7 separate regions of the Homo sapiens genome follow, and regions 2, 3, 4, 5, 6 and 7 are each linked to region 1. Evidence: promoter capture Hi-C in 16 types of primary human blood cells and fetal thymus (Javierre and others, 2016). All regions are on one chromosome and are shown on one strand. The core of a region is centred on a gene start or on the middle of the fragment in contact, and the rest is flanking DNA. Distances in the headings are between cores, read along the strand shown.

The links. Contacts are between HindIII fragments. The CHiCAGO score rates a contact against its expected background, and 5 or more counts as called.
Region 2: a contact is called between a fragment that was not itself captured here and the fragment with the promoter of TRIB2 in region 1, in 7 of 17 cell types (naive CD8 T cells, total B cells, fetal thymus and 4 more). The highest score is 9.8, in naive CD8 T cells.
Region 3: a contact is called between a fragment that was not itself captured here and the fragment with the promoter of TRIB2 in region 1, in 1 of 17 cell types (total B cells). The highest score is 5.1, in total B cells.
Region 4: a fragment that was not itself captured here is called in contact with the fragment with the promoter of TRIB2 in region 1 in 5 of 17 cell types (erythroblasts, total B cells, M0 macrophages and 2 more); the score reaches 7.8 in erythroblasts.
Region 5: a fragment that was not itself captured here is called in contact with the fragment with the promoter of TRIB2 in region 1 in 4 of 17 cell types (monocytes, neutrophils, total B cells and 1 more); the score reaches 6.5 in monocytes.
Region 6: a fragment that was not itself captured here is called in contact with the fragment with the promoter of TRIB2 in region 1 in 4 of 17 cell types (total B cells, naive B cells, total CD4 T cells and 1 more); the score reaches 7.3 in total B cells.
Region 7: a contact is called between a fragment that was not itself captured here and the fragment with the promoter of TRIB2 in region 1, in 4 of 17 cell types (total B cells, naive B cells, erythroblasts and 1 more). The highest score is 7.4, in total B cells.

What each region holds. Positions count from the first base shown.
Region 1 is chr2:12,715,116-12,718,695 of GRCh38, reverse strand. It overlaps TRIB2 (tribbles pseudokinase 2), which reads right to left and starts at 1,760. Exons shown (of 3, transcript NM_021643.4): 1 at 119-1,760. The coding sequence starts at 388. LOC124905974 (a long non-coding RNA gene) reads left to right here and starts at 1,938. Exons shown (of 2, transcript XR_007086222.1): 1 at 1,938-3,580. RefSeq lists enhancers at 1,293-1,362, 1,211-1,850 and silencers at 1,803-1,862, 1,953-2,172. The HindIII fragment of the contact is 5,863 bases long and covers 1-3,085 here.
Region 2 is chr2:11,749,052-11,752,631 of GRCh38, reverse strand. All of the region lies in intron 1 of LPIN1 (lipin 1), which reads right to left. Among named protein-coding and RNA genes, the nearest start is that of LPIN1, 4.2 kb to the right of the region's middle. RefSeq lists a silencer at 2,455-2,514 and enhancers at 2,975-3,024, 3,045-3,304. The HindIII fragment of the contact is 6,273 bases long and covers 1-3,580 here.
Region 3 is chr2:11,784,400-11,787,979 of GRCh38, reverse strand. It overlaps LPIN1 (lipin 1), which reads right to left. Exons shown (of 21, transcript NM_001349206.2): 10 at 2,904-3,094; 11 at 813-906. Among named protein-coding and RNA genes, the nearest start is that of MIR548S, 19 kb to the right of the region's middle. RefSeq lists a silencer at 2,963-3,257. The HindIII fragment of the contact is 4,737 bases long and covers 1-3,580 here.
Region 4 is chr2:11,803,835-11,807,414 of GRCh38, reverse strand. LPIN1 (lipin 1) reads right to left here. Exons shown (of 21, transcript NM_001349206.2): 16 at 2,844-2,992; 17 at 2,259-2,345. Among named protein-coding and RNA genes, the nearest start is that of MIR4262, 31 kb to the left of the region's middle. The HindIII fragment of the contact is 2,019 bases long and covers 971-2,989 here.
Region 5 is chr2:11,914,777-11,918,356 of GRCh38, reverse strand. No RefSeq gene overlaps it. Among named protein-coding and RNA genes, the nearest start is that of MIR4262, 80 kb to the right of the region's middle. The HindIII fragment of the contact is 5,197 bases long and covers 1-3,580 here.
Region 6 is chr2:11,942,965-11,946,544 of GRCh38, reverse strand. No RefSeq gene overlaps it. Among named protein-coding and RNA genes, the nearest start is that of MIR3681HG, 62 kb to the left of the region's middle. The HindIII fragment of the contact is 3,195 bases long and covers 32-3,226 here.
Region 7 is chr2:12,019,716-12,023,295 of GRCh38, reverse strand. The region is part of intron 2 of MIR3681HG (MIR3681 host gene); the gene reads right to left. Among named protein-coding and RNA genes, the nearest start is that of MIR3681HG, 14 kb to the right of the region's middle. The HindIII fragment of the contact is 1,208 bases long and covers 1,429-2,636 here.

The DNA of each region.
Region 1 (3,580 bases), core at 511-3,010:
TTTAATAAGGCCACGGTAATTATCCCGCGAATCTCCCTCTCCCAGACTCGAGGGCCTGGCGCCCTCCCGCTCCCTCGGGCCCCTTCCAAAGACAAAAAGCAACCCACTGGCCCTTTACCTTGCACACCAGCTCCTCTCCGCTGTGCAGATGCACGGCACGAAAAACGTGGTCTCCCTCCAGAGGTTCCAACAATAAGTATTTCCCGATACAAGAAACGCAATGCGACAAGTTCGGAGTCTCGGGCGGGCTCGGGGAGCCGAGGTTCGGGCTGAAACTCTGGCTGGGCTCCGCGGACCTTATAGACGACAACTCTTCGAAATCCTGGGTTTTGTTCCGCGATCTCCCATATCTCGCTATTGTGATGGGGGTAGACCTGTGTATGTTCATGAGTGTGAGGATCGCACACGACAAACAAAAAAAAACCCGCTGGAGAGATGAGTCGCTGGCGAGTGCGGCTGCAGGCGCCTCGGTGCCACTGATTTTAAAAGGGAGCGAGAGGGGAGGGGACAGAAGAGGGGCTGCGTGGAGAAAGAGTTAGAAGCCCCCAAATGGGCGCCGCCGGATACCTCGTCTGCTCCGAGCCCGGCTCCCGGGGGTCCTCGGTCGGCAGGCAACTCGGGTCTTTTTGTTACCCCAAAGCAGTCGGCGATGTGCAGAATCGCCGCACTTTTAGTTACTCTGTGTGTGTGTCCCCGGCGTGGATCTGGATGAGTACCCGGGCTGCTAAGGTGCGGAGCTGCAGCGCCAGGGCTCCCGACGCGACCCCCAGGCCGGCTTCCGAATCGCAGACGGGGCGGAGGAGCCCGCGGTAGTTTGTGCAGTCTTCGGGGAGCTCACGGCGGCGACTCAGTCCCAACGCGTTAGAAGCCAAACAAAAAGAGAAAGGAAACAAGCACGGGTCTACCGGCTGGCGACGCACGGCAGCCAGAATCCGCGCTGCACCCCCTTTTTTTGGTGGAAAGGGTGGGGGGCGTGTAAGGGGGGGGTGCGGGAGAGGGCAGTTACCTACGTTTTAACTGTAGATGGCGTCTGAGGCTTTTCCAAGATCGCGAGCTCTCCAAAAATTAAACAAACAAACAAAAAAAAGAAAAATTGCAAGGGAGCATTTAACTTGGTGCGGTCAGCGCTGCCAACAAAAGATTGCAAAAGCTGGGCACAGAGTTGCGGCGCGGGCTGGGCGCAGGTACCGCGACAAAGCCCTGGGCTCGGCCCGCCGCGCGGAGGTCAGCACAGGCTCATGCTGTCGCCGCTCGCTCGCGCCCCAGGTCTTCCTCCGAATGCAGCCAGACGTGCAGGAGAGAACGAGGACAGATCGGCGGTCTCCGATTTCGCCGGCACGAGCTTGCGGGGGTCCTGCGGGCGCTGCAAGGGGAGCTGCGTCCCTGGCCCTTCCAACGCGCGGCGTTCCTTTGCCCCTTTCCCGCTGGAGAACTGGATCTCGTCCTGGAATAATTTGCAATCACCCCGTCTCCCCCTACCCCGAGACCAAATTGCCCGGTGGGGTTTGTTTTGGAGAAAATTGACGGCTTGTCTCCTCCTTCTTTGATTTCTTGCTTGCCCCCCCCAGAGAAAAGAGGGGACCGTGTATTTAAAAATTAAAGGGGACGGCCGACGGTGCCCGAGGCCAATCCCCGCGCTCAGCACGCCCGCATCCCCCGGCGAGGCGGTATTAATAGTTACTTACGTGGCCGGGGATCTCGGAGCGAGCGGGGCCGTGAGTGCGCGTGTGCGCGCGCGCGCCTCGCTCGCGCTCGGTCTCCCCATTCAATGTCACCGACACATTTCCACGGAGCCTCCGCCCCCCCCCCGCCGCCCCCGCGACTGGCTCAGCCCAGAGCCGGCCCCGCCCCGCCCCCGCCCGGGCCCCCCTCATTGCGCCGGGCGCCCATCAATCAGCCCCGCCGCTGCCAGTCCTCGGGCGGCTCCCCGCGCCGCTGCCATTGCAGCTCCGTGCCGGGGGCGCCAGCACCGGCCTCGCAGCTCCCTCGCCCGGCCGGGGAGGTAAACAAAGTGAAATATCCTTCCGCGGCCCGGGGCCCCGGGCGCAGCACCCTGGGTGTCGGCTGCGAGCCGGCTGCGAGCCCAGCTGCGGGCGGCTGGGCCGGGGTTACCAGCAGCGACTCCCGAGCCGTTCCCCACACGCTGCTCCCGCAGCGCCCGCTCCAGCTCTTCGTAGCTCGTTCATGTTCCTGGCGCTTTTCCCCAGAAAGCCAGGCACGCTCTGAGCATTGGGCCCCCAGGCTCAGATGTGGCCCTGAATGAGGAGCTCTGTTTTGGAAGAATGCGCTTTCATCGGTATTGCTGCCTGGAGTTTCGAGAATTCGTTTCATGGTATCTCTCCGACATCCTCCTCTCCATTTAAAAGGAAATCCATTGCTTCCTTTTAGTTGGTGTCACCGCTTGCCCCCGATCCCCACATCCTGGGCTTGTATTTCTAGTGTTTTCAGCAGAAGAGGAACTGAAGGCATCTTTTGATTCAGGTCAAATTTAATCACTAATTCTTCCCTTCCCAGTGCATTGCCTGGAGGGCCTTGGAGGCCAAGCTAGACAAAACTTTGCACCCACACCTCCAGGGAGCGCTGTTGGGTCCTATCCAGGGTGCTGGGCGTCCTGAGTCCTCTTCTGTTAGCCAGGTGAAGGCTGCAGTTTCACGCCCCACTCCACCCCCCATTTCGCCACCCCCCCCGAATTATTCGTAACTTCCTTGGGAGATTCCAGTCCGCGGGCTTGGACAGGAACACCGGAAGCAAGGGGCTTGAACTCAGGCAGAGGCTTCAAACGCCAGCCTTGATCTAAGATATCCTGGTGAATGAGAAGCGATCTAGTAGAGGACAAACTTAAAAAAAAAAATCCCAAGGAACTGAGAAAGGGGAGTTGGGACGACTCCTGGAGCCCTCTGAGCTTTTGCATGCGTGTAGTATATTTTCCACTGGAGGAGGGGACTAAATTATTGTCCACTGTAGGACACTTTCAGTAAAAGAAGGGAGCTATTTATAATTATGTCCACTTGGGACAACAGTCACTCTAATGATCAGGAGTCCTGGGAATGTGGCCAGAGATGGAGAGGACATTGACTATAAAGCTTCCACCCAGCAGCACAGAGTTAAAAGGAAGGTTAAGAAGTGGACCCGTGCCTTCCAGCACCTCTCACCATCCTACTCCCCACAAACCTGCCTAGGATTCAGTCCCAGATCCCAGCAGAATAGATCTATTTCCCTAGGCGATCACCAGGACCACTGACCGAGCAGGGTCCCCTAATCCAGTCTTACCCCAGGAAGACACTTGGCCTGTGTTAGGAACAGTCTCGAAGCAACCCCTGCTGTTGAGTCAGAAAGAGAGGTGCCTAGCCTCCTCTATGCAGTGGCCAAGAGAGCTTTGTAATAATTAGGGGTTGGGACACCTGTGTGCTAGCCCTGGCTGGGTCTCTGATTTCAAATGGAAATTGGGTGAAGACCTTGTTTTTTCTCCCTAGATCCCTGTTTCTTCATCTGTAAGATGAGAAGCATAATACCCGCCCTGCTCACCTCATGTGGTTGCTTTAGAATTATATTTTCAATTCCAGGAAATCTATGAAGGCTT
Region 2 (3,580 bases), core at 679-3,178, 970 kb after region 1:
GTGAAACCCCGTCTCTACTAAAAATACAAAAAATTAGCCGGGCGTAGTGGCGGGCGCCTGTAGTCCCAGCTACTTGGGAGGCTGAGGCAGGAGAATGGCGTGAACCCGGGAGGCGGAGCTTGCAGTGAGCCGAGATCCCGCCACTGCACTCCAGCCTGGGCGACAGAGCGAGACTCCGTCTCAAAAAAAAAAAAAAAATGGCCTTGGAACAGCTCAAAAGAAAAAATGGACAAAACATATAGACAGTTCACATTTGGCCAATAATATATGAGAGAGATATTCAACCCCATTCATAATTAAAGATACAGGAATCGAAAGAGGCCTTTCAGATGGTCCAAAATCAAAGCATTTCATTAAAACCCCAGGGCCCATGAAAAGTAGGAGAATCAGACATCGTCACTCACTACTAACAGGGTCATAAATGGGGTAAGCAATGTGGCAATGCCCATCTTTTGGGGCACCTATTGGCAAACCCTAGCAACTATACCGCTGGGAACTGATTGTACAAATACAGTAAGATCCGTGTACAAAAACAGTAACTGTAGCATTAATTGTAATAGGGAAAATCAGAAATAACTTAATATCTGTATGACTCTGGCTTAATAAATTATGGGCCATCCACATTGTAAAATGGAATATTATGAGGCTGATAATAAAATGGTAGAGAGGTAGCTCCATAAATATTAACATGAAAATGTATATATAGAATGAAAACAGGTACAAAAATACTTATAATATGGACCCATTGTGGTTTTTTGTTTGTTTGTTTTGTTTTGTTTTGAGACGGAGTTTCGCTGTGTTACTCAGGCTGGAGGGCAGTGGCGCAATCTCGGCTCACTGCAAGCTCCGCCTCCCAGGTTCACGCCAATCTCCTGCCTCAGCCTCCCGAGTAGCTGGGACTACAGGCGCCTGCCACCAGCCTGGCTAATTTTTTTGTATTTTTAGTAGAGACGGGGTTTCACCATGTTAGCCAGGATGGTCTTGATCTCCTGACCTCGTAATCCACCCATCTCGGCCTCCGAAAGTGCTGGGATTACAGGCGTGAGCCACCGCGCCCAGCTGGACCCATTTTTAAAAAATTACATTTGTACATATTTTGATATGCATAAAAAAATTCTGGAATGAGATACATACAAAACAAGATTCACAAGATTCACCCCTGGGGACCAGCCTGGGAAAAGGAGGAAGAGATCTTCACTTTTTATCATAAATACTTCCCATAGTGTTGCTTTCTAGCTTGTGTTTTTTATGTCTGCATGTATTTCATGTCAATTATTAGTAACCTCAGAGAACTGGGAGTGAAGGATGGAAAACTCTGGTCCACTCAGTCTCAGGGTCTCCATCACTGAAACCACTGAGACAGGACAGGGTGCTGGACAGGGGTACTCCTGCTTTGGAGGGAAGGTCAGATGAGTGATCACTCAGCTCCTCCAGCGCTGACACTTTGCAACCCTCAGATACCACAACCCCAGGTGACGCTTGTTCTCACGTTCCTGCCAAGAAATACAAATGGCCTGGATAAAGGTGGGTGTAGACATCTAAATATGGTATGACAACTATGCTGAGCAAAACAGCCCAAGGCTTTGACTCCGATCCTTTGGCTCTTAATTATTTAGCTCACTGATTAAGGACAGGACGTTCTTTTCCTTCAAAGACCCAATGGCACATTCTCTCTACGCACTTTCAAGAGCCCTCTGTCCAAATTCGTGTCTTGGTCAAAAAGAATGCTCTGCCCTTATAACTTTATTTCTGTATTACCCCCCACCCCTACCACACCCCAGCAATTGGGAGGTGGGCATATATCACCTGGGTGTTCCAGGGCACTATTAGGAGACAATATAGCTCAGCAGGTAAGAGCGCAGGCTCTGGAGGTATTCAAATCCTGCCTCCACCTTCCACTAACTCTGTGATCAAAGACAGGTTACTAAGCTCTCTGCACTGCAGTTTCGCATCTATTTTATAAAAAGGGATGACATCAGCACAGCCACCTCATAGGACTGTTGTGAGGCAGTAAATGTAAAGTACTTTTCAAAGCACATGCACCAAATAAAAACCACGTGCTAATTCTGTGACCACAAACTGGTTCCAGACAAAATCCGGTCTTTGAATAACGTCTCTTGCCAGAGGGGACTTTGTATATATCACCTATTTAAATAGTACCTTCCCAAAAAGACAGAGGCAAAGAATATTACTAGTTAAAATGAATACAGAACTATTTGAAGGCTATGCCTACATTCCACATTCTCATTTGCCCAAAATCTGAGCCCAAAGAGGCCACCCCGAGACTGGTGGCATTCTGGCATTGCACAGAGTCCAATGGTGGGACATTGTTTTGCCAGAACAGTTGTCTGGGCGCCTGTCTTGTCTGGTGCCCATTATCCTAAAACCCTTGTTGCTTGTCTCCTGTCTTGTAAACTGAAGACCTACAGCCTAGTGAGATCCATGAACGCGGAGGACGACTTCATCAAAAAGTGAGTGTGTGTGGCTAGGGGACAGAGGGCAAGGGGAGAGGTGCGAGGGCTTCCAGGGAGCGAGGCCGGGGAGGGGAGGGGGGCACAAGTGCGTGCCAGCAGGCAAATGGGGGTGTTGGTTGTGTCTCCCATGCAGGGTCTGTGGTCAACTTTGTGAGCCAATGCAAATCAGCTCACACTCAGGAACAAACAGGCCTCCTTACAGAGCAAAGTGCCTGTTCTAACAGCCTATGGCTATTTCTGGAAAGCCCCAGCATTCAGCATCAGCCGAAAATTTTAAGTTGTTGCAAGAATCACAACATTTGGTCAGTGGGTTGAAAAATCCACTGTAACCATGACCCTGTAGCCATGACCACCGGTGTGAAAATGCTTCTGGCTTCTCTCCTGATGGAGCCCAGTCCATCTGGTTCCTCCCAACCTCTCAGCTGGGAGTGGGAGCGGCACAACGCGCCCTGCATCCCTCAGTGTGCAGAACAGCCTGTGGGCCAGACACTGCTGAGGTTTTAAGACTCCTGGGCCACATACCTCATTGTGAAAAGTGTCAGCCTGGGTCTGGGTCAGCCCAGACCCAGAGCTTTCTACAGGCAGAAACTCACTACTCAACATATCCCTGGCTGCACAGACCCCACCCCAACCCCAGCTGCTAAGGGCTTGTTGGGGTGAATTACAGGTAGGGAGACAGACAGGGGAAAGCTGTGGAAAGAGGAAGAGGAAGGGAACCCACAGGAAGGGAGGTCAGGGCACTTGCTTCGGACCCCAGCAGCCCCAGGGCCCAGTGTGGCCTCCTAGGGGGCACAGATTCCCTTCAGGCGCTGGTGCATCCTCTGATCAAGGAGCAGGGCCAGTGTGGGTGTGTCCCCTCGACACACAGGCATGGGCCCCTCTCTCTCTCCAGACCCTCCCTCACAGCTCAGAAAGCGAACATTTCAGAAACAGCCATCCGATAGGCACCTGGGCCTCTTCTGAATGAAGAACCTGTGACGTCACTGAACGGCTTTGCTTGGGTTTTGTCCCAACTCTTTTTTCCCCACACACCCCGTTCCAGTTTTAAATGAGTGGGCTTATTATACAATACATTGGTCCAGGGTTCAATAAAGTGTCAAAATTGT
Region 3 (3,580 bases), core at 1,081-3,580, 930 kb after region 1:
TCAGATAATGAAGTTTTTCTTTTCTTTTTTTTTTTTTTTGAGACAGAGTCTTGCTCTTTCACCCAGGCCAGACTGCAGTGGCGCTATCTTGGCTCACTGCAACTTCCGACTCCCAGGTTCACGCCATTCTCCTGCCTCATCCTCCCGAGTAGCTGGAACTACAGGCGCCCGCCACCGCGCCCAGCTAATTTTTTGTATCTTTAGTAGAGACGGGGTTTCACCGTGTTAGCCAGGATGGTCTCGATCTCCTGACCTCATGATCCGCCTGCCTTGGCCTCCCAAAGTGCTGAGTTTACAGGCGCCAGCCACTGCGCCCAGCCGATAATGAAGTTTTTCAAAAGGGTAGAGATGTAGGCTACTCTGACATACCCATGTACTGCAGAGTGTGACTATTCACATTCAATAAGAACATCGAGCTGGGTGTAGTGGCTCACACCTGAAATCCCAGCACTTTGCGAGGCGGAGGTGGGAAGATCTCTTAAGCCCACAAGTTCAAGGCTACAGTGAGCTACAACTGCACCACTGCACTCCAGCCTGGGAGACAGAGCTACACCTTGTCGCAAAAAAAAAAAAAAAAAAAAGAAAAAGAAAAGAAAAGAAAACTCACAAGACTGAGAGCTATCTGAACCTATCAGCTATATTGCCAATTCTATTGGCATGGAACCCTGACCACAGTGAAGATAATGCAATAATGCAATGTAGCAAAGTCTTTATTTTATATATTTCTAAGGCTTAATGTCTAGGTCTATTTGAAAACATGAAACAGAAACAGTATCATGCTACTGCCAAAGTGACTTTCAAGAGGTACTTACTTACTCCCAATCTTTACCACGAGATTGGGGTCATCGATAATAGCGGGGTTGTCCACAAACTGTTGATATGACACAGCTTGCTCCAGGAATGCATCTGTGACAGCAATTGCAGAGGATCAGGGAAAAACAAAAAGAAAATTCAGTTCAAAATTAGGCCTACCTTTCATTTGCTCACTCACAAGTGTTTTCTGAGAGTTTGTGCATTCCAACTGTGCAGACAATCCTATAAAATGTATTTGTAAAGGCCGCACCATTTTACCTGGAAGGCGGCGTCTGTGCAGCAATGCAGGGAGGCCAGGGCAAGGCTGAGGATGTTGGGGGACGTGTACCTTAGTTGAGGCACATACGTTCACACAGGGAGTAGGGGTGAAAACAGCACACACGTGCATCTGCACAGGCAGAGTCATGGCTACGCATGGCGCAGAAGCCAGGCTCCCTCGGCTGAAGTCACGATTACGGGGGTAACCCTGGGCAAGCGGTTCACCTCCCAGGCCCCAGTTCCCTCCTCTAGCATGGGGATAATAACCACATCTGCTTCCTAGGGTGGTCATGGGGACTGATAATGTCGTAAATAGAAAGCACAGGGCCCTTTCAAAAATGGGGCTGCCTCCACCACAATCAGAAGCAGGCAGGGCACTGTTCTCATCATGGTGGGGCAGCCCCACCAGGATCAGAGCAAAGGAGAAGGTGGCAGGGTCAGGAGGCCCAGACCTCAGCCCCGGACCCTCAGTTCTTTGACGGGCTCTGGCAGCTGGGCTGTACCTTAAGCCTTGACCGCGGTTCTGACCATCTCCCTGGCCCAGAGCCACGCCCACTCCTTCCCTGGGAGCTCCTATTTACCCTGAACCGAACCGAAACCCAGCAGACATCAGACACTGAGAATCTCCTCCGTCCAGGAAAAGAGTCCCTGGGTCTTGATGCCAGCCTGACTGGCTTCAACATGCACCCTCAGAGCCCTAATCAGGACCTCCGGGGACTCTCCTGGGGTCTCCTGACTGTGACGATCTGGCCTCACCTGTAAGGACTGGACAGCTGCAGATCCTGGCCCCATGAGATAACACTCAGATAACGGTGCCCAGCCTTGTCAGTGCTGCCACCCCACCCCCACCAGCTCATGTATATCAGGGAGGGAACGCCCAGGGGACTCCTCACGCCAGTGTCCAGAGAGCCCCCATGACTTCAGAAACACAGTGAGGCTGGGTATTAATGTGTGGCCCTAGGAAAACTGAGTGAATGAATGGAGCCGGCGGGACCCAGCACACAATCTTGTTTCCGCTCTCAAGGGACTGGCTGGCACGGGCGTGAGAACAAAAAGGTCTCAATCTTTGCGGAAGAAAAAATTCCCAAAGCCTTGAAGGGACCAGGGTGGAGGCAGGAGTCTCACATGGCAGCCCTGGTTGGAAGGGGAGATGGGGGTGGCTCCTGAGAGGTAGAGGGAAGAAGTACACAGCCTCGGCCCCTTCCCTGCTAGAAATACCACGAGGGGATGGAAAAGAGGCAGTGGTGAGAGAGGGGGCGGGAGGGGTGCAGGGCCACTGTGTCTAGTCCCCAGCTGATAACTGCTGACTGCACCCACTGGGGGGCGTGGGCACACCCTGCCATGGAACTGTCAGGAGGCCCTGGGAGTGCATTGCTACGAATGTGGCAGGTGCTGTGAATGAATCACCTAAGCCCACCCGATTAACGCCCTTTGAATCCAGCTGGGAAAAGTTCCCAGCCCTCCTCCGACAAACTCAGACCTCCCTGTTCCAAGGCGCCGGCGCACTTCTCTCTCGCTGCCGACACCCTCTAATTTAATTAGACTGACACCCCCTCTAGCCTGCAGGCCTCTGGAGGCCATCTCTGCAGTGCTAGCCTGGGGCACAGGAGACACACAACGATGGCCCGAGCCATGGGTGACCCACAGAACTCTGAGGCCGACTAACTGCAAGCCAGAAACATCGGGATTATGAGTTCGGTGCTATCATCTGTGCTATCATTAACCGCAACCAAGGGAAAAGCTGCCTTGACACGCACTCCTTGGAGAAGCCTAAGCCTCTGCGCCTTCTGACCGGCGGCCACCAGAGGGCGCCCGCGCGAGGCCCGCGGTACCTTTCGTGATCTCCCGGTGGTCGCTGAGGCCCCCGCAGAGGGAGATGGCGATGGAAGGGAGGTCCCTCAGCCCGTCCGAGGTGCTCTCCACGCCACTGTCCACGCCCGAGCTGCCCACCGACTGCGGGGACTGGTTGGCTGACCGGGCTCCGTTGTCGCTTGCATGTTTTGCGAGTCCGGAAGGATCTCCGCTGGAAGGAGGAAAAGCGGCAGAGACCGGCTGAGGACTGTCCCAGTTCAGGGTCCTACATCACCATCCAGTGATGCTCTGGCACGCGGCCACCCTCAGAGCCGCAGACGGCTGCATCTCAGCACAGATGTTTATTAAAGCACCACGACAAGGAAAGAGACATTAAACGCCTTAGCTTAGGAGAGAAAACCATTACTTCTCAGCTGGCTGCATCTCCCTGTATCCCCCTAAAATATACTGAAGAAGAAGCAAGCTGTCCTCCCTGTTCCCTGCCCTTCCCCTCCAGGCGCCAGCCCTGCCCTAGATCGCAGGGGGACTGAGGGTGGGTCCCCAGGATCACGGGAGACCCTCCTGGGGGAAAAAAGGGCTGCACAGCTGCCACTTACTGGGCTGTGGACCACGACCACTGTGGACAACATGACCTCAGGCTTTGCAGGGAGGGCAGCCCGGTGCTGCGCCCCTGTCCAGAGGTGGGGCGCCGCCCAGT
Region 4 (3,580 bases), core at 731-3,230, 910 kb after region 1:
GACCCATGAGGGTTTCTTTCCTTCAACTAAAAATAGATGCAATTTTCAGTGTCACACAAGTCAAGGCACCTCATGAGTAGATTAATCCTTCTAAATGAAAGGTCAGCCCGTGGTGAGGCTGTGGGGAGGCGACGCTGCACATACGCCACCTACAGCAGCACAGACTGGGATAACCTTTTGAGAGGGCAATTCGGCAATATTGATCAAAGCTTTAAATGTGCTCATCCTTTGACCCAGCAATTCTACTCCTGGGAATCTACTTTACAGCGGGACTTCCCTAAGTGTGTGTGCCTTCTTTATTTATTTATACATGCATTATATATCATAAGCATTGTCTATGAACGCTTACTGCATCACTGTTGGCAATAGGGGAAAAAGTGGCAACTACCTACACGTTCATCAATAGAGGGCGAGTTAAAGAAAGTATGGTGTATCTAGACGACAGGATTCTGCCCAGTAGCAAAAAGAGTAAGGTAAATATTACATAAAATGAAACAAAAAAGATATGATGAATAATTAAATAATGTGAGTGTATGTGTGTGGGGATGTAAATAAGTTTTTGAAATTCAGCAAGATAGAACCAAACTGTTCATAGTAGTTCTACTTTTAAGGAAGGGAATAGCTTGCAGCAAGGGCAGGCAGGAGGGTGATACAACCTCTGCGCTTTACTGTTTCCATAATCTCAGCCTCTTTTATTAGTATTTTTATGTCTTAAGAAGTATGCATAACTTTTGTATTAATAATTTTTTAAAGATGAAATCTAGAAAAGTAAAGTCAAACCAATGAGCTTGGGCATCTAAGATGACATCTGAAGCTTTTTTAATGTACATACTTATTTTTTTAGAGAGATGGGGGGGAATCTCACTATGTTGCCCAGGCTGGATTCGAACTCCTGGGTTCAAGCAATCCTCCCGCCTCAGCCTCCCAAATAGCTGGGACTATCGACATGTGCCCAACAAAATCTGAAGCTTTTAATCCCACCAGGATTAAGGTTCTCTCTCCAAGCCGCCATTTTTCTACTGGATCATAAAGTCCCAGGTCAGAGACTTACCTAGTTCATAGCAATCCCAGGCACCTGCCCTAGGATGAGGCACTAACAGGCACTCAAGGAATGCTGGATGGATGAACGGATGCAGGGCAGGGAAATACAGTTCATTCATCTGTGTTCACAGAGTTCTAGAAACAGCTCTGGATGGTGGCCCATTCCCTACCATCACCACTGTGGGCTAGAGATGAGCAAACAAGGTTGGGAACCATGGGCCTGACACTTCCGTCTTGACACTATCTTGACACTCACTAAGTGTGAATGTAACTTGCTCACCCACCTCACCCACGGAGAGACCGCACTGTCCTGATTCAGGCAGAGGCACCTTCCAGCTCTAACTGGCTGGAGAACAGAATGCTGTGGAGGGGGAGATTTCACTCGCATGGGAGACTCTAGGCCACAAAAGGCTGGAGGAGGCATGACTGAGCGGGAGAGAGGCTTGGGCCTGGCAAGCTAGAATGGGGGTGTTTCGGAAGGGGCGGGGCATGGAGAATCCCTGCAGGGCTCTGAACCCTGGAGGCAGACGAGAGCAATGAGAATTTGGATAAATCACTTTAGTTCTCCTAGTTAATTTCACTCATCTAAATACAGAAATGATATTATGTGCTTTTCAGAATCTCTGTAAGATATAAGTGAAGTAACCCATGTACCCAGCACAGGAGAGCAGTCGGAGAACCCCTCTCCCATCTGATGTCTGGGGCTGAGGGTCCCACGGTGGGCACTGTTCTGTTTTGGGCCACTTGCTGGAGCACTCCACAGACCAGGTAGACATGATGTGCCCTGCTGGTTGGCTCGCAGGGTCTGCAACGCCGCCAAAACTTGCCTGGAATCTGCAACTTTTTAGTCTACAGAAAATCACTTGGCATATATAACATATAAGCTCCTATTTCTTCAACTGGCTACCTCTGCCATCCCTCGGGATGAACTAAACCTCAGTCTCACCCCTAATGCTGCCACCATCTGTGTTCTCCTAGTAATCAATTCCCCTATACTTCGCCCCTTGTTTCTTGGTATTGAATTCAAATTTGGAGTTGCTGGGATTCACTTTCACTCTGGACTCCACTGCTACCCCTGACCCCCACTGCCCCTCCCTGGTTGAGGTGCAGCCCTCTCTGCAAGTCACCCCGTGCTGGGACAGGAAAGATTCCATATGCAGAGTGCGGTGCACACACCAGCGTTCACAGGAGGCGGGAAACAGGAACTCTGTACTCACTGGCTCACTTTATGGTACAGCTTAGCGATGCCCTGATGGGTCCAATCCTTCCCAAGGGTGGGCAAAATGTGGCCAAGAGTATCTGATCTAAATGAAGAGGAAAAGAGAAAAATAAAGTAAAAATCCCTTTCAGATTCATTGCACCATTCATGCCTCATAAAAAAAAAAAAAAAACACAAACAAGACCCACAACTTTCTTTCTGGATAGAAAGCCCAAGGCTCAAGTCATCAAAGTTGATGCTGACGGAGGGACAGGTAATCCACAGAAGGACGCCTCCAGTCTGATCATGCATCGAGGTGACCGGCTTGTTCAATCAAAGGTAAAGGCCATTCAAAAAGACGTTCTTGAGAAGCCCCCACAGAAGCAACCAAGTCGAAGAGATAATAATACCCCAGAAGGAAACAACTAAGCCCTAAACACAATGATTGCCACCAAGGAGCTGAAACTACGTAAGGAGCTCCAACTGCACCAGAATTCGAACCGTGCAAGTCCCATGAGGAGAGCAGAGGTGCCAACACCAGGCCCAGAGACCCCCACGGTGAAGCAAAGAAATCTACCATGGGCCCCAAGTCAGCAGGACCTACCTGGTAATTGTCCCATCAATATCAGAAATGATGACTTTATCATCCCAGTTCCACAGATAGATGGTGCCCTCACAGCGGCACGTGCCTTGGTACTGCGTGGTGACACTGAAAACCACGTCGTTGGGGCCATTCTTCAACTTCAAGCTTTTCTGAAAAACATGAACCATTAGTATTTGTCTGCTTGAGGGAAAGGCCCTGATTGATGGGCATTTGGCTTCTGTTCTATGAGAAGCAGGATTCGGCTTTAAAAACAAGTGACTGCCCTGGGCCCTTGTATAATTCTTTCTTTCCCCACCCTTCCTTGTTCTGGTTCTTTCCGGGGCTGGACAGGCAAAATGAAACCTCAGCTCTCTCAGGCCCCCTTGTAATGCAACTTGCCTACTTGCTACAGAGTTGTTCTACTTCCCAGGATAGTGCTAATTTGATCAAGTATTTTCAGATTACAGTCATTAGCCAGGATTCAATGACGGGGCTACACGGCGTAATAAATCACAAGTTTGGAATAGGATACACTTACCACTCTAGGACTAAATAGGAAGATCATCATTCAGGGAGACAAATTTAAGCCAAGTGTGAAAATACATTTCCCTAAATAACCATGTTTTTAAATTATTATTATACTGACACGAATTGGAAAAAGAGAAGTCTTGGTTATCAGTCATGCCTCATATCCAGAAGAATATAGTCTAGACCCAAAGAAATCACACCAAATTCAAAATACAAAGTGACTTTTGAGC
Region 5 (3,580 bases), core at 326-2,825, 800 kb after region 1:
AGCCAGTCCTAAAATCCTAAAGGAAGAGTGGTCAGGAAAGGTTAATTGAGCAGCCCTGGGTTGCTCAAATCCTGTACATTCCAAAGGAAAGTTTGCCTTCAGAACTGGCCTTTGGCCACCTTTGGGGAGATGTGCTCTAAACTCCAGAAATATTCTGCCCAATAAGAGTGTTTCATATGCCTGAGACTTTGTGTCATGCTGTATTAGTTTGACTAGATAAGTTTATCCAGACACTGATTTATGGTAAATGCCCTGAATGCCTGCTTTTCCTTGGGGACAGGCAGGTGGTGGGGAGGGGTGGTGTCTAGAATCTGAGAAGCTGAGGTCAGTCGCATTAGGTGCTGCATGACTATGAAACTGACCCACAAGAAAAGCCTTGGACACCAAGACTCAGCAGAGCCTCCCTGGTTGGGCACACTCCATGCGTGTCGTCACATGTTGATACTCAGAAATTAGATGTCCCAGCCGGGCGCAGTGGCTCACGCCTGTAATCCCAGCACTTTGGGAGGCTGAGGAGGGTGGATCACTTGAGGTCAGGAGTTCAAGGCCAGCCTGGCCAACATGGTAAACCCTGTTTCTACTAAAAATAGAAAAAAATTAGCCAGGCATGGTGGCATGTGCCTGTAATCCCAGCTACTCAGGAAGCTGAGGCAGGAGAATCGCTTGAACCCGGGAGGTGGAGGTTGCAGTGAGCTGAGACCGTGCCACTGCATTTCAGCCTGGGCAAAAAAAAGCATGACTCCATCTCAAAAAAAAAAGAAAAAAGAAAGAAAAGAAAAGGAGAAGAGAAAGAAAAAAAAGAAAAAGAGAAAAGAAAGAAATTAGACATCCCTATAAAACTCCCCTGGGAGGATTTCCCTGAGTGCTTCTGCCTTATTTTTCCTAGACTTTACTCCACACCCCTTTCCCTTTGCTGACTTTCATCTTTGATCTGCAGCCTTTCCCTGCAATAAAGTATAACTGAATATAACAGCCTCTGAGTCCTGTCCATTCTTCTAGCACATCACCAAGTTCATTTTGAAGAAAATCAACAAGATGGGACGAAAATGCATCACATAACTATAATAAGAAACTTAGATGGCATTGGAACAGAAGGATGAATGGAATGGACCAGGGACCCTGACGATCTCTCTTCTCCCACACATTGCACATTTTTCAAGCCTCCACATTTCCTTCAGTTGAACCTTCATTTTGCAATGTACTACTTCTACTATTGAGCTTCTGCTAATTCTTACGTTCTATTCAAGTGGCACTTGTTTTATGAAACTTTCCCCAGCTTCAAGGAAAAGGAATTGCTCCCTACTCAAAGCTCCCATAGAAATTTGTTCTGGCCTCAGCACTAATCACATTGAAGCAATGTTGTACAGCCTGTATTTATCTGTCTTCTCTCCCGCTAAACTGTGGGTCCCAGAGGGCTCAGTCAGTACCTGATTCATCCCTGTCTCCCTGGCACACACCACAACATAGAGGACCCAGTAGATGTTAAATAAATGTATGGTGAATGAGTAAAATATGAATAATGATGAAAACTCAAGTGTTGGGAGGTAAGTAAATTGTAGTGTTCAATAGGAACTATGGAAAAGGATAACAAAACCTGAGATTTACATTTGGGATAAATAATGTGTCATCCAATGAAAAATTTCAGGATTTATTCGATTTCACTTACACACACCCACAAAATGAAGGCATCATAAAGACCAGACTAATAATTACAGAAGATATGTGTAGAGTTTGCCAATTTGTTATAGTGATTGAAGAGTGTCTCCAAATAAATATGTTTTTTCAGGAAGATCCTTCATGGTGAACTGCAAACAAGCCTTGAAAGTTAAACTATGAAAACTGGGTAGTTTTATTGAGTCACAGTCTGATATGAAACTTCCATTCATGATGGAATCCATTCATCTGCCTCTAGATATAGTTTTTTACTTAATTTTAAAGACTCTTGCTTCAAATCTAGGCACTGTAAAACCACATTACTTCATGCACATTAATTAGAAGAACTTTCTTTTAAAAGATAGAGATTAAAGGAGAATCTCTCCTTTGCATTATTTATAGATAAAATATTTGCTAATCAAATGAATACTAGTAATGCTATTACAGGAAGAACTCAAAACCCTAAGTAATCTCCCATTTTCTTTCTCACTCTGAGTGTACTCTACCTGCGTTACGGAATATGGTAGCTACTAGTAATATACGGCTAAGAATCACTTGAAATGGGGCTAGTACTATAAAGGAATTAAATTTTCCATTTTATTTCATTTCAATAGCCACATTGAAAAGTAGCTAGTGGCTACCATCTTAGATAATGATATAGAAAATTTCCATCATCTAATGAAAGATATACTAGATCGTGTTGGCTTATACTCTAGATGTCCAAAATTCAGTAAGTATCAATGAAATTAACAAACAATGACAAGTGTGTGGTTTATCAAAATATAAACTCTGACACTGAGCTATAAAAGATGAAGGGTGGTCCTTATCTTCAAGGAGGCAGATGTGTAAATAGCGAAAATAGTGAATCATCCCTAATGCAGGAAGGCAGAAAAATTACATGAGGGAGCTAGTAGATCAAAGAAAGCTCTAGCAGAGACGTGATATTTGAACCAATTCATAGAGTAAAGAAAAATTTAGACAACAAATGGGGCGGGGTTAGGGAGCCCTTAAGCCAAGGGAACCCCTGTGTATAAAGGACAGAAAGGCACTGTGAAGGGCCATGGCATCTGGTTGGCAGCACATGGATTAGAGAGGCCAGAAGGGAAAGATGATAGTGTAGCAAGGAGGCATGAAGACCTCGTAGATCAGGGAGCTTACAACAGTCCCTTGGGAAGATAGGGAATTGTATTGGGTTTTAATTGAGCAACGATATGGAACATAGGATCTGTGTTATATAAATGTCATAATGGCTAGGCACAGTGGTTCATGCCTGTAATCCCAACACTTTCGGAGGTGAGTGGATTTCTTGAATCCAGGAGTTTGAGACCAGTCTGAGCAACATAGTGAGACCCCATCTCTACAAAAATAAATACAAAACTTAGCTGGGCATGGTGGCACACACTTGTACTCCCAGCTACGAGGGAGGCTGAGGTGGGAGGATAGATAGAGTCCAGGAGGTCCAGGCTGCAGTGAGCCATGATTATGCCACTGCACTCCAACCTGGGTGACAGGGCAAGACCCTGTCTCAAATAAATAGGTCATAATGGCTGCTGAGGGAGAAATGGAGAGAATGGAGATAGATCAGAGATGAGGAGGCCAAGGAGGACATTGAGGCCAACAAGCAGAAGAGAAGCGACCATGCTGAGCCAGGACAGAGGAGGTGAGGCTCGAGAGGAAGCAAGCAACGCAACAGCTGTTTATTCAAAATGGGTTAATATTTTTTAAAAAGACTATTTTATGAAAATTTAGCAAGTGTGAGACATGCAATCATTCTGGCATCCCAACAGCATATGCTGTGAGAGAAGGTGTTGCTGCAATTGTTAGGATGGGCTCTCCTTAAAGCTCACAAAACCACTCCAAAATGCTGAGCATGCAGCAACCCAAGAAAGCCCGTTGCCACCTGCTGCAATCACTCAGCCAGCACAGC
Region 6 (3,580 bases), core at 380-2,879, 770 kb after region 1:
CCTTCAATTCTTCCATTTATAGGGGAAAGCTTGCATGTAATTAATTTAAGGATGATTTCTCCATAAATTATACTTCAATCTAGTTCTATATTTAAATAATTAAGTTTGAAACAGAAAGACTAATGAAACTAATGGTTACCAAATTACTCGATTTTGAAAATCATTGATTTTCTCATTTGCCTGCTAAAATTAATCAATCTCATTTACATATACAGATTGCATTTGCTTTAGCTTTGAGATATTTGTTTTCCAAGTTTTTCCACCAGTTTCAAAATCCACTTTAAAAAAAACTCAGTTCTATTTCAATTATGCTTATTTGCATGGAAACCAAAGCCTTACTGCTCTAATTAATAATATTATGATTGTTCCTTTTATTTGAATACAATGTCCTTGTAACTTAAAGAATAAAGATTCAACCCAGCCAAGCAACTTTAAAAATACATATGGAAATGATCAGTATAATACAATTTCTTTTGGTAATAAGATAAATAAAAGCAAATTCTCCTGTTACAAAACACACAAAAAAATCCACTTTACAAAATACCTTTTTAGCAATTTCTACAAAACAATACTCTAAGATCTTATGACCATGTCATACTAAATGTCTATATATATGATGAGAAGGTATTTCCTGGAATGACTAGTGGGTGGGATAAGCCTAAAAGGATTTCCAAGAAATACAGAAACATAAGGATCCAATAATTTGAAAAAGGATTAAAAATATTCTAAGACTTTCAAAGTGCAAATTACCACGTACAAATTTGGTGGTTATAATAAGCCTTTTCTTTGCAATAAAATGAAAATTTAATAGAAAACGTATAGGAAGTGCAACTATTGAGTTGTGAAACTTTTGTTTCAGTTTTACTTTTCATATGCGGGCATGTAAATATGAGTGTACAGGCTGGGTACGATGGCTCAAACCTGTAATCCCAGCATTTGAGGAGGCCAACGCAGGTGGATCACTTGAGCCCAGTAGTTCAAGACCAGCCTGGGCAACATGATGAAACCCCATCTCTACAAAAAGTACAAAAATGAGCTGGGCATAGTGGCATATACTTGTAGTCCCAGCTACTCAGGAGGCTCAGGTGGGAGGATTGCTTGAGCCTGGGAAGCAGAGGTTGAAGTGAGCTGAGATCATGCCATTGCACTCCAGCCTGGGTGACAGACCAAGACCTTCTCTTAAAAAAAAAAAAAAAGAGGTTATAAGAGTGTGTGTGTGTCCTGAGTCATGAGTCATGGTCATGAAAGAAAATGTATTTGTTACTGTGGACTAAGGTCAAAAGTTTAAAAACCACTAACCCAATTGATCCATTGACCAGATGGAGTTTTGAAGGACTGATATTTTAGAGACTTCTGAAAATAATAATAGACTTTGTCATCAGACAGCTGGGTTCAACTCTCAACAAGTAACTCAATCTACCTAAATCTTGGTGTCACATTTGTAAAATGAAAATAATAGTAACACCTCACAAGTTTGTTTTGACATTAAAAAAAGATAATGTATGTGAGGTGTTTAGCACAGTGCCTGGCATATGATAATCAACAAATCTTGGCTATCATTTTCTAGAACTGCTGGAGAGCTTCTTTGTCTCTGATTAAAACATACCCCCTTCAAGGTGTATTCATTTCCTCTGAGTGACATCTGTCACCTCTTTAATGAGTTTTTTACCTTTTGTCCATGTTCAGTTGCTCCTCCAGACAGCCAAGGACCAGAGGCAGAATTCAGTGACCAACACTAAACATGAGAAAGAGCAGCCTCTCAGCAGTCCATGTGCATACTGATCCCCTGCTTAGCTTCAGACTCCATGTCAGTCGAGGTGAAGAAATAAAAAGGAGGTGAAACTGGCCCAATTGTCCCATAGAATTGATGTATGGTTTCTTTTGAATAAACACAGAAATTGAACCTTCCAGTCTTAAAACTTCAGAAGTTTACTTTTGTTTTATCGGAGTTCCTTTTTCAGGAAATCAACCATCAGTCCTGCCAAATAGTATCAAGGAACTGAAACTCACTAGATCACAGTATCTGGACAATGAGATGCCAGACCCCTCACCTGTCATAACTGCCTAATCAACCACCCACTGCCTGTTGACCAGCTCCTCTTCCTTACCTCTCACACACGGTTACATTTCTTTCTCCACTATATAAACCCCTAATTTTAGTTGTTGGGGAGACACATTTGAGACCGATTTCCCATCTCCTTGGCTGAAACACCCGATTAAAACTTTCTTCCCTGGTAATACTCATTGCCTCAGTGATTGACTTTCTGTGTAGTGAGCAACAGGACCTACACTGAACCCCTCGTGTTTCAGTAACAAAGGGTCACACATCCCTGTACCTCCATCTTATGCTACTTTTTTTTTTTTTTTTTGAGACGGTGTCTTACTCTGTCGCCCAGGCTACAGTGCAGTGGTGCAACCCTGGCTCACTGCAACCTCTGCCTCCTGGGTTCAAGCGATTCTTATGCCTCAGCCACTACAGTAGCTAGGATTATAGGTGTGCACCACCACACCTGGCCAACTTTCATATTTTTAGTAGAGACGGGGTTTCACCATGTTGGCCAGGCTGGTCTCGAACTCCTGACCTCAAGTGATCCTCCCGCCTCAGCCTCCCAAAGTGCTGGGATTATAGGCCTGAGCCACCGCACCTGGCCTATGCCACTTTCAAATAAAAATGCTAACATAACTAGGGAGATTCTGGGCCATCTTGGAATTCTTCATGACTCCTGGATCCTTTGTTTCTGTCACACTTGTCGTCTTCCGTATGGTTTACTTAGGCATAGAATGGGGAAAAGGAGATTCTAGAGAAGAAAAAAAATGCTAAGTTTAAATACTGATGAATCCTGGAATAATGAGGTTTAGGGTGGCTCAAACATGAAAAAATATATATAGGGATATGCAAGATATTCCACTGAAAATACCATATAGAGAAACATAAAGCAAGCTAAGGGTTCTGAGCTTTATAGTGTAATAAAAAACACAGGCAACAATTGCTGAGTCCTTCCTCACCACACATGATGCCCGGTGCCTTACACATATGAACTCAATTGACACTCACAACATCTATGGGGTAGGTTTTCTGGTAATCCTCAATTTTTGCATGAGATTTTTCAAGAAGCTCTTATTAAATGGTGAAGCTAGGATTCACAACTCCTGGCTATCTGACTCTGGGGTCGATACTCTTCAGGTTCTAGTGTCTTCCATGGGTCAGAGGGGGCCACCGGAAGCTTTTTTATTTATTTATTTTATTTTTTGAGACGGAGTCTTGCTCTGTCACCCAGGCTGGAGTGCAGTGGTGTGATCTCGGCTCATCGCAAACTCTGCCTCCTGGATTCATGCCATTCTCCTGCCTCACCCTCCCATGTAGCTGGGACTACAGGCGCCCGCCACCACGCCTGGCTAATTTTTTGTATTTTTAGTAGAGACGAGGTTTCACTGTGTTAGCCAGGATGGTCTCGATCTCCTGACCTCGTGATCCACCCACCTCAGCCTCCCAAAGTGCTGGGATTACAGGCATGAGCCACTGCACCCGGCCAAGCTTCTTATTTTTTTATTTTTGAGATGGAGTCTTGCTCCATTACCC
Region 7 (3,580 bases), core at 783-3,282, 700 kb after region 1:
TGTCATGAGAACAGCAGCATGGGAGTAACTGCCTCAATTACCTCCCACTGGGTCCCTCCCATGACATGTGGGAATTATGGGAACTACAATTTCAGATGAGATACGGATGGGGGCATGGCCAAATCATATCAGTTACTTTTAAGAATTTTATACATATATACACCAGAAAAGTGAATGGGATTGCAAAACTTACCTCAACACTAAACCAACTTCTAAGTTTGAGTATTGTGTTTTCATGGCCCACTTTGCCCCAACCTCTCATTTTTCTCAAACCTTTTTTTTTTTTTTGGCCCTGCAGCCTCCGATCTCAGATTGTCCCCTACAGGCCACTTAGGTCTGACATTGCTTTGCCTCAGCTTTCTTGTAGTTCTCCTCTTATTTGTCTTCTCAGGGCCATACCTTCAGATTTAGACTTCCTACTCAGCATGGGAAGCATGGACACAGCCTCACTTGCTACGGCACCTTACTATGCTAGGCATTGGCTGCCATACTTGATTGTATTAGCTCCTGTCTTCCTTTCCCTCTTAGCACAGAGTAACTTAGGTGTGTGCACCTATCAGGTAAGGAAAGTAGCAGGCAGAGTCATGGAAGCCAGAACATCAATTGCTGAATTGAGGCTGTACCATGGCCTGTCTCTGTGAATATTGTGGCAAGATATATACCCACCCAAAAAAAGCACTGAAAAACCTTCATAAGGGAGATGTATAGGGTGAGACACACGAAATGCATTCAAAAGGTAGTCTGGACTTGCCAGAGTCTCAAAGTCCTCTTTGAGGGAATTGGGAGAGGAACTAGAAGGAATCGTTGAGAACACACATGTGTTCTGATCTTTGCCCATTTTAGGGTCACCCACTAGTAAACTGTATGGATGTTCACAAAGAGGAGATGTATTTCTTCCATAAAAAAGCGAGAATGCTAAAGTGTCACCAAGTCTTTCCCCTTCTGAATGCTGTCAGCTGCTAGATGTCCTGCTACCAGCAGAGAAAATGCCTAGTGTGTCCACCTCACCAGAGTCCTGGACAGAGCAGGGTTTGCTACCAACTATGTCCCACCTGTGCCGGTCCTGTGGGCAGCAGGAATCAGGCTACCATGGAAATTCTGCTTGTGACCAGCCCTATCAAACTAGAAGCAAATGAGGGCACAGGGCCTTTGATTGTCAGCTGCCCCACAGCTGGGGATCAGTTACCTATGTAGCCCTGCACCAGGTCCTTCAGGAGACCACATTGTACCTACGGTTCATCTTCCCAGCAGCCCTCCATGTCAATTCCCAGAAGGGGCTTGAGCCTTTGTTGCCCATCACTTACCCCAGCACTTCTCCAGCTGTGGGACAGAGTCAAGCCTCGACTTAGTGCAGGCTCCTCAGCCACATCTGACCTCCCCTTCCAGACAGCATTCAGCTCTGCTAAGAAATCAGGCAACCATCAAGCTTGGAGTTTTGCCAGGAGAAATTCAGAGAATTTCTCATACGAGTGAATTATAATGCTGGATAAACCACTCCTCCATCTGAAATATCCAGTCCTGAAGACAGAATTAGCTGATTATCATGATTACTTTCATTTTTTGTTTTTAAATCTTCTTTTCCCAGCTCAGCACCCTGCCCAGTCTCCCTTTGTCTCTAGGGTGGTACTTCAAGTCCCACCACACCCTACGACAGGGTTAATCCACACCCCTTGCACCCTAGAGCCGACAGAAATATCAGTGGTGAATTCTTGACTTGGATCCATAGCTATTATTTAATAAGCAATATCACAGAAAATGAGTCAAAAATCTGATATAATTACTCCTTGAAATTCCCACTGCAGCTGGTGCCAACAAGGTGTCACATTACAATTCAACAATCCAGTCTTTCATGGCTCTCACTGTGTCCCAGCACTGCCCTCCATGCTCTGCAAGTGATACCTCATTTTGTTATTGAAACACTAGGGTTTCGGTCTAGGTTCTGCTGCTCACTGCACAGAAAGCCAATCACTGATAGAACAAGTATTGCCAGGGAAGAAGGCTTTAATCAGGTGCTACAGCTGAGGAGATGGGAGCTTAGTCTCAAATCCATCTCCCTGGCTGACTAAAATTAGGGGTTTATATAGCAGGGAAAAAATGTATCTACATGCATAAAAACAGGAATTAGGGAGGGGTAAGGAAGAGGAGCTGGTCAACAGGTAGCAGGTGGTCGGTTAGGCAGTCATGATAGGCAAGGGGTCTGACTTCTCATTGCCCAGATGCGGTGATCTGGTACATTTCAGTTACTTGATACTATCTGAGTGGCCTGACTGATGGTTTCCTGGGAAAGGAACTCAGATAAGACAAATGTCAGTTTCTCAAGTTTCAAGATGGGGAATGTCAATTTCTATGCTTATTCAAAATAATCTATAAACATCAGTTCTATGGAGCAATTGGGTCAGTTTCAAATTACACCACATGCAATTCTGTTGGGGGAATATGATGAGTATCCCTATATCATGGATGAGGAAACTGAGGCACAAAGGCATTCGATACTTGCTCAAAGTCACACTGCTATGGAGCAGTAAAGCTAGAACATGCCTGGCAGTCTGGTTAAAGAGGCTGTGCCTTTAACCATCATACCACACTGCCCTGTATCCAAAAGACACACCCAACCCCAAGGAAGAAGGGGAGAAGCTTCAGAAAAAAACACTTTAAATGTGAAATGGATTTCCTCAGAGGTACCAATGGGAAAATTACATTTTCAGACACACAGCAAAAATTCTAAAAGAAACTTTATTATCCCCAAATCTTACATACTTTGACAGCTACTCTTCTCTAAAATCTCCCTTCTCTGATTCATTTCTAATTTCTCTCTAAAATCTGTAGACCAACTGGCTCTCCAGGCCCTGTCTTCTCCCATTTCTTTCTTGATACTTTATGGAAAATTTGGACCTGTTTCTTACCATTCGCCTTTTCAGTCATCTTCTTGGTCAACAAAACAAAGCCACCATAAGTATACAAGGTTCTGAGGGGAAAGGCTGTGAAGGCCTCTTTCATACCTTTACATCATAGTCACATTTATGTTAACTGGTTCATTTTAGGTAAGTCAGAACCTAAACACTGCCCATGTGGAATTTCCCCACATCTTTTGAACACACAGGTATGCCCTTGACCTTGGCTGTCACCTCCATGCCAGGAGATGCCAGTGGCTGGCTCTCCCCAGCTCCCACTCCCTCCCAACTCCTCCAAATCCCATCCACAGCCTAAGGCAAGACTGCACCTTTGTCTCTCCCAAGGATACATGGAAAAACAAAATATCTTATTTAAGTTCTGCCTTCAGCTCTGCATTCTGACTTATCTCTTATTGCATCTTCCTATGAAAATCGTAATGGTAGATTATACTGGGAGAATTGACAGTACTGACAGAATCAGTGGAGCCATGGACTTGGATGGGCTGAGTTCTAACAACATCACGATTTTGTACTTAAAACCAAGACTATCAAATCAGCTCTGTGTGGCCCTGTTACCTACCCAAGCCTAACTGCTCTCTGACCTCAGGCTGCACTGCCCCCTACCAGCCATGCCCTTCTCAAATATGGGTGAGGGATGAGCTGGGGAGACCTGCAGCCACGTGGGGATA